3 separate regions of the Homo sapiens genome follow, and regions 1 and 3 are each linked to region 2. The links are contacts of gene promoters, found by promoter capture Hi-C in human tissues and cell types (Jung and others, 2019). All regions are on one chromosome and are shown on one strand. Each heading gives the region's core, a stretch centred on a gene start or on the middle of the fragment in contact. The rest is flanking DNA. Distances are from core to core; before and after follow the strand shown.

What was found. Contacts are between HindIII fragments. The study calls those that stand out against the background at their distance.
Region 1: the fragment with the promoter of ABCA6 here is called in contact with a fragment that was not itself captured in region 2 in 1 of the 25 tissues and cell types used here (H1 embryonic stem cells).
Region 3: a contact is called between the fragment with the promoter of ABCA9 here and a fragment that was not itself captured in region 2, in 2 of the 25 tissues and cell types used here (aorta and pancreas).

Annotation. Positions count from the first base shown.
Region 1 is chr17:69,140,513-69,144,169 of GRCh38, reverse strand. It overlaps ABCA6 (ATP binding cassette subfamily A member 6), which reads left to right and starts at 2,275. Exons shown (of 39, transcript NM_080284.3): 1 at 2,275-2,425; 2 at 3,422-3,562. The coding sequence starts at 3,467. RefSeq lists a silencer at 2,088-2,382. The HindIII fragment of the contact is 16,221 bases long and covers 1-3,657 here.
Region 2 is chr17:69,092,817-69,096,436 of GRCh38, reverse strand. ABCA6 (ATP binding cassette subfamily A member 6) reads left to right here. Exons shown (of 39, transcript NM_080284.3): 25 at 84-197. It also overlaps the pseudogene SEC24AP1. Among named protein-coding and RNA genes, the nearest start is that of MIR4524B, 4.9 kb to the left of the region's middle. The HindIII fragment of the contact is 8,648 bases long and covers 1-3,620 here.
Region 3 is chr17:69,059,171-69,062,858 of GRCh38, reverse strand. It overlaps ABCA9 (ATP binding cassette subfamily A member 9), which reads left to right and starts at 1,932. Exons shown (of 39, transcript NM_080283.4): 1 at 1,932-1,993. It overlaps LOC124904051 (a long non-coding RNA gene), which reads right to left. Exons shown (of 2, transcript XR_007065889.1): 1 at 3,344-3,688; 2 at 2,767-3,171. The HindIII fragment of the contact is 8,506 bases long and covers 1-3,688 here.

The DNA of each region.
Region 1 (3,657 bases), core at 1,026-3,525, 47 kb before region 2:
CCCCTACAATAACCTTATATATATATTAATACTGTTGTTTTTCCACTTTTGGGGGGTAAAAAACCTGAGGGCGTGAGAGTTAAATGGATTGTGCAAGGTCACACAGCTAGTACATGGCAGAGCCAGAATTTGGACACAAGTTTGGCTCCAGAGTGTTTACACTAACTCCTGTAATACATCTCTGGACAGGTTATTATACTGGGAGAATAAATTCAGATCCTTCTCCTGTCTCTTGTACCTGATACATGCTCTACATACTTTGTGGTTTCATTTTCTATGGGCGATCTATCTATCTATCTATCTATCTATCTATCTATCTATCTATCTATCTATCTACTATCTGTCTGTCTGTCTTCCAGAAATTGGGCAGAGAATACAGCTTTGCTCTCCCCTGAGGTTGTAGGTGAAATTTTCCTAGTCTGTTTTTAGCACCGGACAGTCCTATAAACCCTCTGGATTCCTGCAGGAATATGAACTCCAGCTTACCAACCTTTCAAGGACCAAGTTCAGGCCAGAGGGTCATTAAAACACCTGAGGCTTGGTTTTCAGTCCAGTATATCCTTGAACTGATGGAGTGTCTGAAATGCCACTCACAACTTAAGGGAAACTTTAAATTCCTTTTCAGTTTTAACACCTGGAAACATGTCTTTCTGTCTTTTTTTGTTTCTTCCATTGTTGTTTACATTCTTCATCTTTTTTCTTCCTTTTTTGAATTTGACTATATATTGGAAATTCAATTTGGGGATATATTTTACCCACCACTTCCATGCCCTTCTAGCTGGAGGCTGGGCACTTTAGTATATTAGATCACCATTTGTGGGGAAATTGTCACATTACGTAAGGAAAACAGCCTCCCAAAATGAAAATAAGTAAGAGGAAACAGGTCAAGAAAAAGGAAAAGAAAGCATACACAAGAAACAATGGTAAGAAATGAAACTAATAAATATATTTAATCTAAATAATTATCATTGATATTGTAGCTGTGAATTTTAATACAATTATAAGAATGGCAGAATGAAAATGATTCCTAAAATAAAGTATAAAGGGTCTAAAACAATGATAACAACAAAAAAATTCATAAAAGCCTTAACTGTATTCCAGGTGGTTTAAAAGTAACTTTGAGTTTTGTTATATTACTATTACAAAATGTTAAGTGTTTATGACCTCCCTTCCCACACCCCATGAGAACTTTAGAACACCTTTATTAACGGTGTTTGTGCCAATTTTCAATGTAAAAAAAGTGGCATTTCACTGTTGACTATTTTTAAAAACAGAAGTAATTGCCAAGGAGAGAAATTTTATATATATATATATACACACACACACACACACACACACATTATATATATACACATATGTATACATTATATATATATACATTTTATATATATACACACAGGCACACACATATACACATAATAGTATCATGGCTGTAGTTGTCATTGTTGTTTAAATTATCTGCTTTGCTCCAGAAAGTTTCTCAGCTTTATGATTATTAACATCTGTGGATTGGGAGCCGTGTCAAATATTTGAGATTTCCCAATTCATGGACTTTGATTTCCTGTTTTGCCATTCACTGTGGCAGGTCAAGAAAAGTTTGCAACTCTTTACAGAGCAGAGAGAGACAGACTATGCTATATGAATTAAACATGTTTCAGTTTGTTGTAGTCTTCGTGCACAAAAATTTATCTGAATCTTTTTATATGTTTTGTAGACCTGGGCAAACCACTGGCTTATTTTGTTCATAAGTATTATGAAATCCTGTATCCACTGTGAAGAGGGTGGGAGCAACAAATTTGTTAAAAATTCTTCATTTGTCTGTCCTAGGAGTTTCTCCAAGGCGTACTATGGATTGCTTAGCTTTATTAGGAAAAAAAATCAGCTCCAGAATACTCTGCTAACTTAGTCTGAATTAGTTAAATATACAACTAACTGGCAGTTGTGTTTATTCATCAGTAGTGAAAAGAAAATAGATACAGATTTCTTATACAAATTTAACTGCTTTGTTTGGTTAGTTATTGTTTTTACTCTTTCTTGTTCCTGCCTCCATCTTGGTCTCATCATTTCTGAAGAACTAGTTCCATTTTCCTTGTTTACCGTTTTCCCCCTTATCCCTGTAGTTGAAAGGCTAAGTGAACAAACACAGAGTTTATTTTATTCCCAACCAACCACGGAACAGTCATTTCCTTGCAGAATAATTGGCTTAGGGAGAAAGAGACACAGAAAACAAAACAAGTTCATCATGTACAGCTTGGTCTGGCTACACCCCTTTTCAGAAACCAGGCTGTGTAAGAGCTGCTGGAGTAGGCACCCATTTAAAGAAAAAATGAAGAAGCAGCAATAAAGAAGTTGTAATCGTTACCTAGACAAACAGAGAACTGGTTTTGACAGTGTTTCTAGAGTGCTTTTTATTATTTTCCTGACAGTAAGTAAAGCTCTATTTTGTTGTGCTGTGCCAAATATGTGGGTGGACACTGCTAAAATCAATCTATTTTTCAGATGTTTCCCAATTCTTATGTGTTTTATGTTAAAGACCTAAGACTAAATTTTTCTGCTTTTTCCCAACCACTTTTTATTGTGTAGATTGTAACAGTAAGACATAGAAAAATGGAAAAAATTTGCTTCTGTGCTAGCTGAGGGAGAATTATCTGAATATTTTGATGTAAAAATATGAAAGAATTTCATTTTGAGGTTACAGAAACGAAAAAAATTGTGTTTCTTGATTTGCAAATCTTTGGGCAAAATTACTTTCCCGTGTGATTTATTTTTGCTTCTTTTAAAGCTAATTTTGTAGTTTCATTAGTTATTCAGGGACTTCTGAATTCAGAAAATTGAGAGAAATTGCTTTATTCTTCCTGTATCTCAGAATCAAGTTTCAAGTAGTTTGAGCCTGGATTATGATTTACAACCTATCTCTTTTCATAAAAGTTGATTCAATCTGAAGGTAAAATTACAAGAAAACACTTTATTGAGGTTGTATCTAGTGGATGTAATTTATTATTCAGACAAATTTAAGTAATCAGACTTTTGATGTTAATTTGATTAGCTCTGAGATTTCTGTTTCAATGTAAAGAACAAGAAATGGCTATTAACAGGATGAAATTAATTTAATCACTCTATTCATGTACTTAAAGTTCTCTCATACAAGGCCAAAAATGTGAAATTATAGGTTCTGAAGTTGAATTACAGCTTTTCCATTTCAGTACTCCAAGTTATTGCAAAATTGTGATAATAATCACTCTGCCTTCCCACCATCACCCACTCCCCTAAAAAGCTTAAGGTGAAATATTTGAGGTGAAATTTTACAGTCATAAATTATTGAAATAATATTTTAAATTCATGTTTACACTTTTTAAAGGTAGTAAATATTTTCCTCAACACTATGATCAAGGTTTTTCTTATTACACTTATTTTTTTCTAGGTTGTGTTCCACCATGATTACTTTCTCCTTCAGCGAATAGGCTAAATGAATATGAAACAGAAAAGCGTGTATCAGCAAACCAAAGCACTTCTGTGCAAGAATTTTCTTAAGAAATGGAGGATGAAAAGAGAGAGCTTATTGGTATGTTTAAAAATTTGTCTCTTTCCACGGTTAGCACTCTTACAGTGTTTCATTACCTACTGATTCTCTTATGTTCTCTTTTAATTAGTAGATGG
Region 2 (3,620 bases), core at 71-2,570:
CTTGTTTTTTAAAAGTTGTAATCTAATTTTTCCCTCAGTAATATTTGATTTTTTGACTATGTTATTATTTCTTTTATGCTCAGGTTATAGTTACTCCTGGTTATGCAGCTTCTCTTGTCTTCTTCATATATATGATATCATTTATTTTTCGCAAAAGGAGAAAAAACAGTGGCCTTTGGTCATTTTACTTCTTTTTTGTAAGTATATAATACATACAAATAGAGAAATAGTGTTATTTTTTAAACTTCTAATGTAATCTTAAATACAGATGTCTGCCTTAAGACAGTAGGGAAAATTAATACTTCAAAATTACACCATAGAAAAGAGAGGGAAGTGTAACACTGTTACTGAATCAATAATATTTCTAAAGAAATCAGGTGCTACCCATTGAACAGAATTTATGGAGAATCTTACAGAAGACCTGACGTCTGAAACGTCCTGTTGAGTTTATGTCTCCAGAATACAGGGCTTCCTGCCAACACTAGAAAATTGGCTTCCTAACAGTTGACATTACAACCCATCTCTACAGTCTTCAAGAAGGTCTCTCTTAACCTTAGCTGCTAATAGTTTCAGATACTAAAGATGTTTTATACTTATGCCAGGTTACTTGTTAGTATAAAAGTAAAGAGCTTGTCCAAAATCATGGAAAACTTTGCTGGAAATGTTTGCTGAAATTCTAGAGACACCAGAGTGCCCTGAGTCCTACACTTCAGGCCTCCTTTAACTGATATCCTCAACTGGTGATTGAATGTCTGTCTGGAAAACAGCTCTCAACTCTTGGAATGGGAATCTTGAATCCATGAGAAGAACCCAACCAAAGATCATCTATAAGAAATGATATATTTAATATTAGGTTGGTGCAAGAGCAATTGCGTTTTTTTTGCTATTTAAAGTAATGTCAAAACCGCAATTACTTTTGCACCAACCTATACGACCCACTGACTTCTACAAGAAATTAGTCTGGGACTCTTTTGGCCAGCAGGTAGCTGTTGTTCCTTCTCAGTGGACAGCACTTGGGTTTGACTTCTCTGGGCTATATTTCTTTGTATTCAGCAAACAGTGTCTATAACTATATCTCTTACCACCATCAGCACAATCCAGTGGAAGTACAGAGGCTACAGAAAGAACATTAGGCTCACCTTACTCGGAAAAACTGGCTTTGAGGCAGCCATGAGGATCTGGTGCACAAAAGGTCTTTCCATTTATCCTTTCCATGGAGACTATTTTTTGTTCAGTCAACAGACTTACTGCCATTGTCCAGTGTAATCTCAGGTGCTAGATCAGATGTCTGTAGAAGAGAGTCTTACTGACACTTGGTTGGTTTCTTTTCAGTCAGCACTCTTGTATCTGTCTAGCAAAGGTGAACAAAGAATTCACATTCATTCTTAGTGTTTGCCAGTAGTTTTAGCTCTGAACGAAGTCTACCTTGGAGGTGATAGCCAAGAAATGTCAGGGTTATTGTCCAGCGTGGTTGCGCATGGGTCTGCTCCTGCCAGCCTGAGTGATGCTGCAGATGCCCTAGTGAGTGCCCCTCATAGATGCTTTTTCAGCAGCTTGTCCTTCAGTCCTAAGTAAACAGCATGCTGGAATCAAGCTTCCTTTTGTGGCTTTTGCCACTCCTTGTGTTGACCCTTATTACACAGAAATCATTCCAAACTGGAACAAATGCACATCTAGATGGACACATTTTTTGCTATGTGCCTCATGAAATAGTTGCCCCTGGCTTACCGTATACTCACAACTTATCCCAGTTTGTATAGAGCTGGAAATTTCTCAGACAAGAGAGCATTCAGCATCAGTGATAGAAACATACCTCAGCCCTTGCCTTTTAGCTTTTAGTGGAGAAGCTGAGCAGGTTTAATTTCCTCATGGCTGCAGGCTCCATAGTGATGCTTTGGGTTGGAAAACATTATAGACAAGATTTTCTCAGCCAAGTTCCAGGATTTCAAATCTGTGCATCAATTCCATAGACTGTGACAGAACTTCTAGAACTTAATAGGCCAGAATCTTCCAAAACAATAAGTTTCATCTCTAGGCTTAGAGAGCAGAAACCATTTTCCCATTGTGGAGTAAGGAGTGAGAGTCCAGTGAGAGGAACTTTCCTTCAAAAAATGGCAGAAGACAGAATCTGCATTATCATATTATGAATGCCCCTTGTATATACGGCAGCAAGTGAATAGATGAACAAAAGAAGAAATTTGACTTTGTTCTTTCTAAGGAAAGATGATAATGCAGAACCACTTCTTAGGCTTGTGAACTAACATGGTGATTAAGGTGTTCTCACTGTGATTTGAAAAAATTATCACAAATAAAAGATCACAGCAGAAAATCAGACATGACACTGAGAAACACTGTATTTTTAAAATCAAAACACATACACGTATGATTGCATGCCTTTTATCCTTTGCTGCCATTTATGCTTAAGTTGTTATGGATTCAAATAAGGCAAGACAATATTCCAGAGGCAAGGTACGTTTTGGAAAACAAAGACTGTTCAAAATATAAAAACAAAATTACACCGCAGTGTAATAGTAAAATATGTATTTATATATTTGTAATTTCTGATTGTTTTTCCTTTGCCCTTCTTATGCTTATCTATTTCAGTATATTTATTTATTTCATTTTTCTATCACTGAAAGGAATCTACATATTTCTAGAATGGTGGAATGTCAGACTTGAAAGAAATTCAAAATTGTCTAGTATGATTTACCAAATTTTATAGTGTTGCAGGAAATTAAGGAACTAGAGAGACCGATCGGGATACAGGAGAGCTTTTATTTTAGGTGTATATCGGCTCAGCAGACATGTGTCCTGAAAGTCTGAGCCCCTAACAAAGAAAGCGAGCAACTTTTAAGCATTTTGGGGCGGGAAAAACTTGAAGCAGGAAGCAGGTTTGCAGAAGTGAGAACAAAGGCTGTTTATCATTTATGCCATGACTTGCATCTTAGGAAAAATATGAGTTGCAATTTAACTTTCACTTACTTATCTTGTGACCTTGCAGCTGCACAGCAAGAAAAACAGGGACTTACAGAACTTACAGAATATGTGGGAAGTAGATATGGTTAATGTTTCTTGGGACAGTTAGTATTCTCTTTTAACTTTAACTTCGGCGGAGGTGGGGGTGCGCAACTTAAATTCTTTTCAGCCTTGGTTAATACAGCAATTCATTCTATGAGCTATTGTTATTTTTCTGTTACTATAATTTTCACTATTATTACTTATGCCATTATTCTGTTATTTTCTTAATTTCCTACTTCAATAGAGGAAAAAATTTAGTAACTTGCTCAGAAAAACACAAAAAGTAGTGACAGGCTCAGGAATAAACTTGAAGTCTCAGACCTTATGTCATTCCTCATGTTAAAAAATATGAGACAGTAGCATGGTTGGCAATACTGATTCAGAACTTGTGCTGATGAACACATCTTGATTTCAGTAGGCTAAAAAGTTTTAAAATTATACCTCTTCACAAAGACCTCAAGCAGTTTGCACTAAAATTTGCATTTGCATACAAATAACTTATAATTTATTTCTAAATATGTGTTGAAAATATATGTTGTGAGAATTTATCATTGTACAGCTAGTATCAACTTAAACGATGCTAGTCCTAGGACTAAGGCAAT
Region 3 (3,688 bases), core at 683-3,182, 34 kb after region 2:
TTTGAATTGGTAAACTGATTCAAAAACTTCTTTATAAGAGTAAATACGTCGGGCGCAGTGGCTTCTGCCTGTAATCCCAGCACTTTGTGGGGCCAAGGTGGGTGCATCATTTGAGGTCAGGAGTTCCAGACCAGCTTGACCAAAATGGTGAAACCCCTTCTCTACTAAAAACACACAAAAATTAGCTGGCCGTGGTGGCAGGTGCCTGTAGTCCCAGCTACTGTGGAGGCTGAGGCAGGAGAATCGCTTGAACCTGGGAGGCAGAGGTTCCATTGAGCCGAGATTGTGCCACTGCACTCCAGCCTGGGTGACAGAGGGAAACTCCGTCTCAAAATAAATAAATAAATAAATAAATATTAAATATTGTTTAATCTAGAAAATATTAAAAAGAAGATCAATGAGAGGGAGCTTGCTCTGTTATAGTGCCACAGAGATTACAGTGTGGTACACTGAAGGAAACATTGAAAACAGAATTTAGAACCGAAAGTCAAAATCAACTAGGTCCAGAACTCATAAGCTCTAACCTAGGTACAAAGTTCTTCTAGGAAACAAGTTACTGAAAAAAAATTTCCTAAATTATATTCTCTGTGCACAAAATGTTGGCGATGTTATTAAATGTATTGAATGTGATAATTTTGTATTTTCTGCAGAAAATCAACCAACCTATAACCTTTTCTGTAGACATATGGAAACAATCAGAAGTCTTTTTTTTTTTTTTTAAGTTTGACAGTCTCATGGATTCAGGAGTTCAGCCTACTTCCACAGACTGCTTGCTGAGCAACTTCTGGATCGCATATAATTAGAAAAAGGATAAATATAATTGAATCAATATTGAGAGAATGGGAAATGGGTAAGGAAGATTTCATTTGGTTATCATGGTCCATGAGACACAGATAAGAGGCTGATTTAAGAATTGCATGCATTTATTGTTTCCCTTTCAGCTGTATGTTCAGGAAGAAATTACAGTACTGAAGAATTTAACAGACTTACTGGCTGTAAGCAGAATGATAGTGGTCCTTTCCCCCCTCTTCTTCAGCCAAAGATGAACTCCATGAATTATAAGAATTTTGGAACAGTCTTTTCTTCTACTTACATAAGATGCTCAAAAATAGACAGAATGGCATCTATTACCAGTTAAAAATGTTTCTCTAACAATACTGGAAAGCAGGACATACTAAAATTCAGTAGTTACTGGTGGAGAAAGTAGTTTGTTTCATGGGAACCGTTGCAGAGATGACAAGCCTGGAGGCTTTGAGAGCACAGGTAATTGTTATGTGAGATTTCTCTAAAGATTCTGCTCGCTTCAGTACCATGAAAGATGAAAGATGCTACAATTAGTATGCACACAATGAAACTGAGATGCAGATGGAAACTCAGAGTTTCTTTTGTTACCCTGAAGAAAATTACATTGCTTTATTGCCGTATTTCTGGATTCAAGTTTTAAGAATCTGTTGAAGGTTTTAAATAGTTTCTAACCCAATTTGTATGTATTTACTTGTCACTTAAAATATATATATATATAACATATATATTTATGTATTTTTCACTTTGTTCTGCTCTACTCTTCTCTGGATTGGCTTCTTACTTATCTTTGTTTAAATCATTGTGTTGGGGTCAACTCTCCCATTAGGGCCTTGTATGAAAAGACCGATTGAGAAAGGCTAGATTCTCCTTGGTTTGATAGTTCCTAATGTTTTGATATGTCCAGCCAACCATCTGCAACTACAAACTCCCTGCTGAGTAACTAGCAGGAAACAAAGAAATGGAAAACAGCAAAGAAATCACCACGTGAGCAGAAGATATTTTGGCAGGCTAGCTGAACTGAGACCAGATTCTCCTGGGAAATTTGTATAAAACAGAACTATTCACAATGAATGTGAAATTAAAAGCATGATGTAGTAGTGACCCAAAAGGAATGTGAATTCTCCTCCAGAACATGCAGAGACCCATGGATGAACTGTGTTTCTAGATTTTTCCTCCAGCTTTCCTGAGAGTAAGTTAACCTCTAAAATTGTGGTTATTTTGCATATAGAAATATAACATAAGACTATAAATAGGCATGCCAGACGTTTAGGTAGAAACCATTAAAAGCAGTAAGTTATTAACGAGTCATTTTGACTTTTTAAATCATCTATTTTATTTTGTATGTCTAAATAACCAAATGAAGAACTAAGAATTTAAATTTTTACCCCGTAACTAAAACATTTTTGGACAAATAGCATACATTATCTAATAGGCTATTGAATAAATCAAAAGAAATGTCACGTTATGTTGCTTCTTTACAAGTATGAACTATTTCCAAATTTATTTGAATTACTTACTCTTCTTTGTTTGTTTTTAATTTTACTGCCAGAGGAATTGTAAGCATTGCAGGATGCATAATTTTCTGAGTTTTGAATTGTTTTTAAATGGCTTGAGAATATTTTCATCAAGAAAACTTAAGGAAAGATTTTTATTGATCTTGTTTATTATAGTAACTATTTTAAAATTTTGATCTAATTTGTTGCCCAGTGCAACAAATTAGAAAAATTTGTTCTGTGAATAACAGGAATTTTATCTGACTGGGAAATGATTGGCTTTTTATAACCAATTTATTATTTCTAAATTATACAATTTCCTATTCAGAACAATTTAAGCTAATTAGATGTTTTATATTATTACGGTGGGTAGTATATTTTTTCTCTGATATTTACACTAAGATGTTCAGTGGGGGGAAAAATCAGTCTTAACGCTCAGAGATAAATAACCACATTCATGACAATGAGATTATGTAATTGTTTTTTATTCACAAATATTTTCTGGCACACACATTAATTCACAGAAAGAAAGAACAGTAGTCACGTGGGCACAATATTTAACCCTTTCAGATACTGAGGTTTATCACCGCTTGATTTCTTAGTTGGAAATGTTGCAGTTTGGTTTCAGGCAGGATTTCCAGGCTATCACAGCCTGCTCCGATGGCATGATTATTAGGAGCTCATCTGCATCACTGGTGAATTTCTTTGGTCACTTCTGGACAGTTTTTAAACATAAGTCCATGCCCTTCTTTGTTCTGCTGATGAGGCACGTCATAAAATAAATGTCCAGCAATGTCTTCCTGTCTTGTTCTCAGGCCTCAGGCTCTCGGACTCCTTCCCCCAACCCTGCCCCCATGTTAACTTTCTATTGCTGCTGTAAAAAAAAAAAAAATGACCACAAACTTAATGGTTTAGAACAAAACAGAGTTATCATCTTACAGCTCTGGGGGTTAGAAGTGTGATGTGGTTCTCACTCGGCTAACATCAAGGGGTTGGCTAGGCTGTGTCTCTTTCTGGGGGCTGTAGGGGAGAATCTGTTTTCTTACCCTGTGTAGCTTCTAGAGGTTTCTTGCATTCTTTGGTTCATGGTCTTCCTCCTCCATCTTCAAAGCCGTAGCAGCAGAATGAACCCTTCTTCTACTGCCTCACTCTGATCTTGTCTGCCTCCCTGTTTTACTTTTTAGCACCCTTGTGATTACACTGGGTCTACCCAGATAATCCAGGATGATCTCCCTATTTCAAAGTCAGCTGATTAGCAACCTTAATTCCATCTACTGCCTTAATTCCCCTTTGTCATGTACTGTAACATATTCACAAATTCCAGGATTAGAACGGGACCATTATTCTGCCAATCACATTTCTCTTCAACTATGCCTTGTGATATAGTTTGG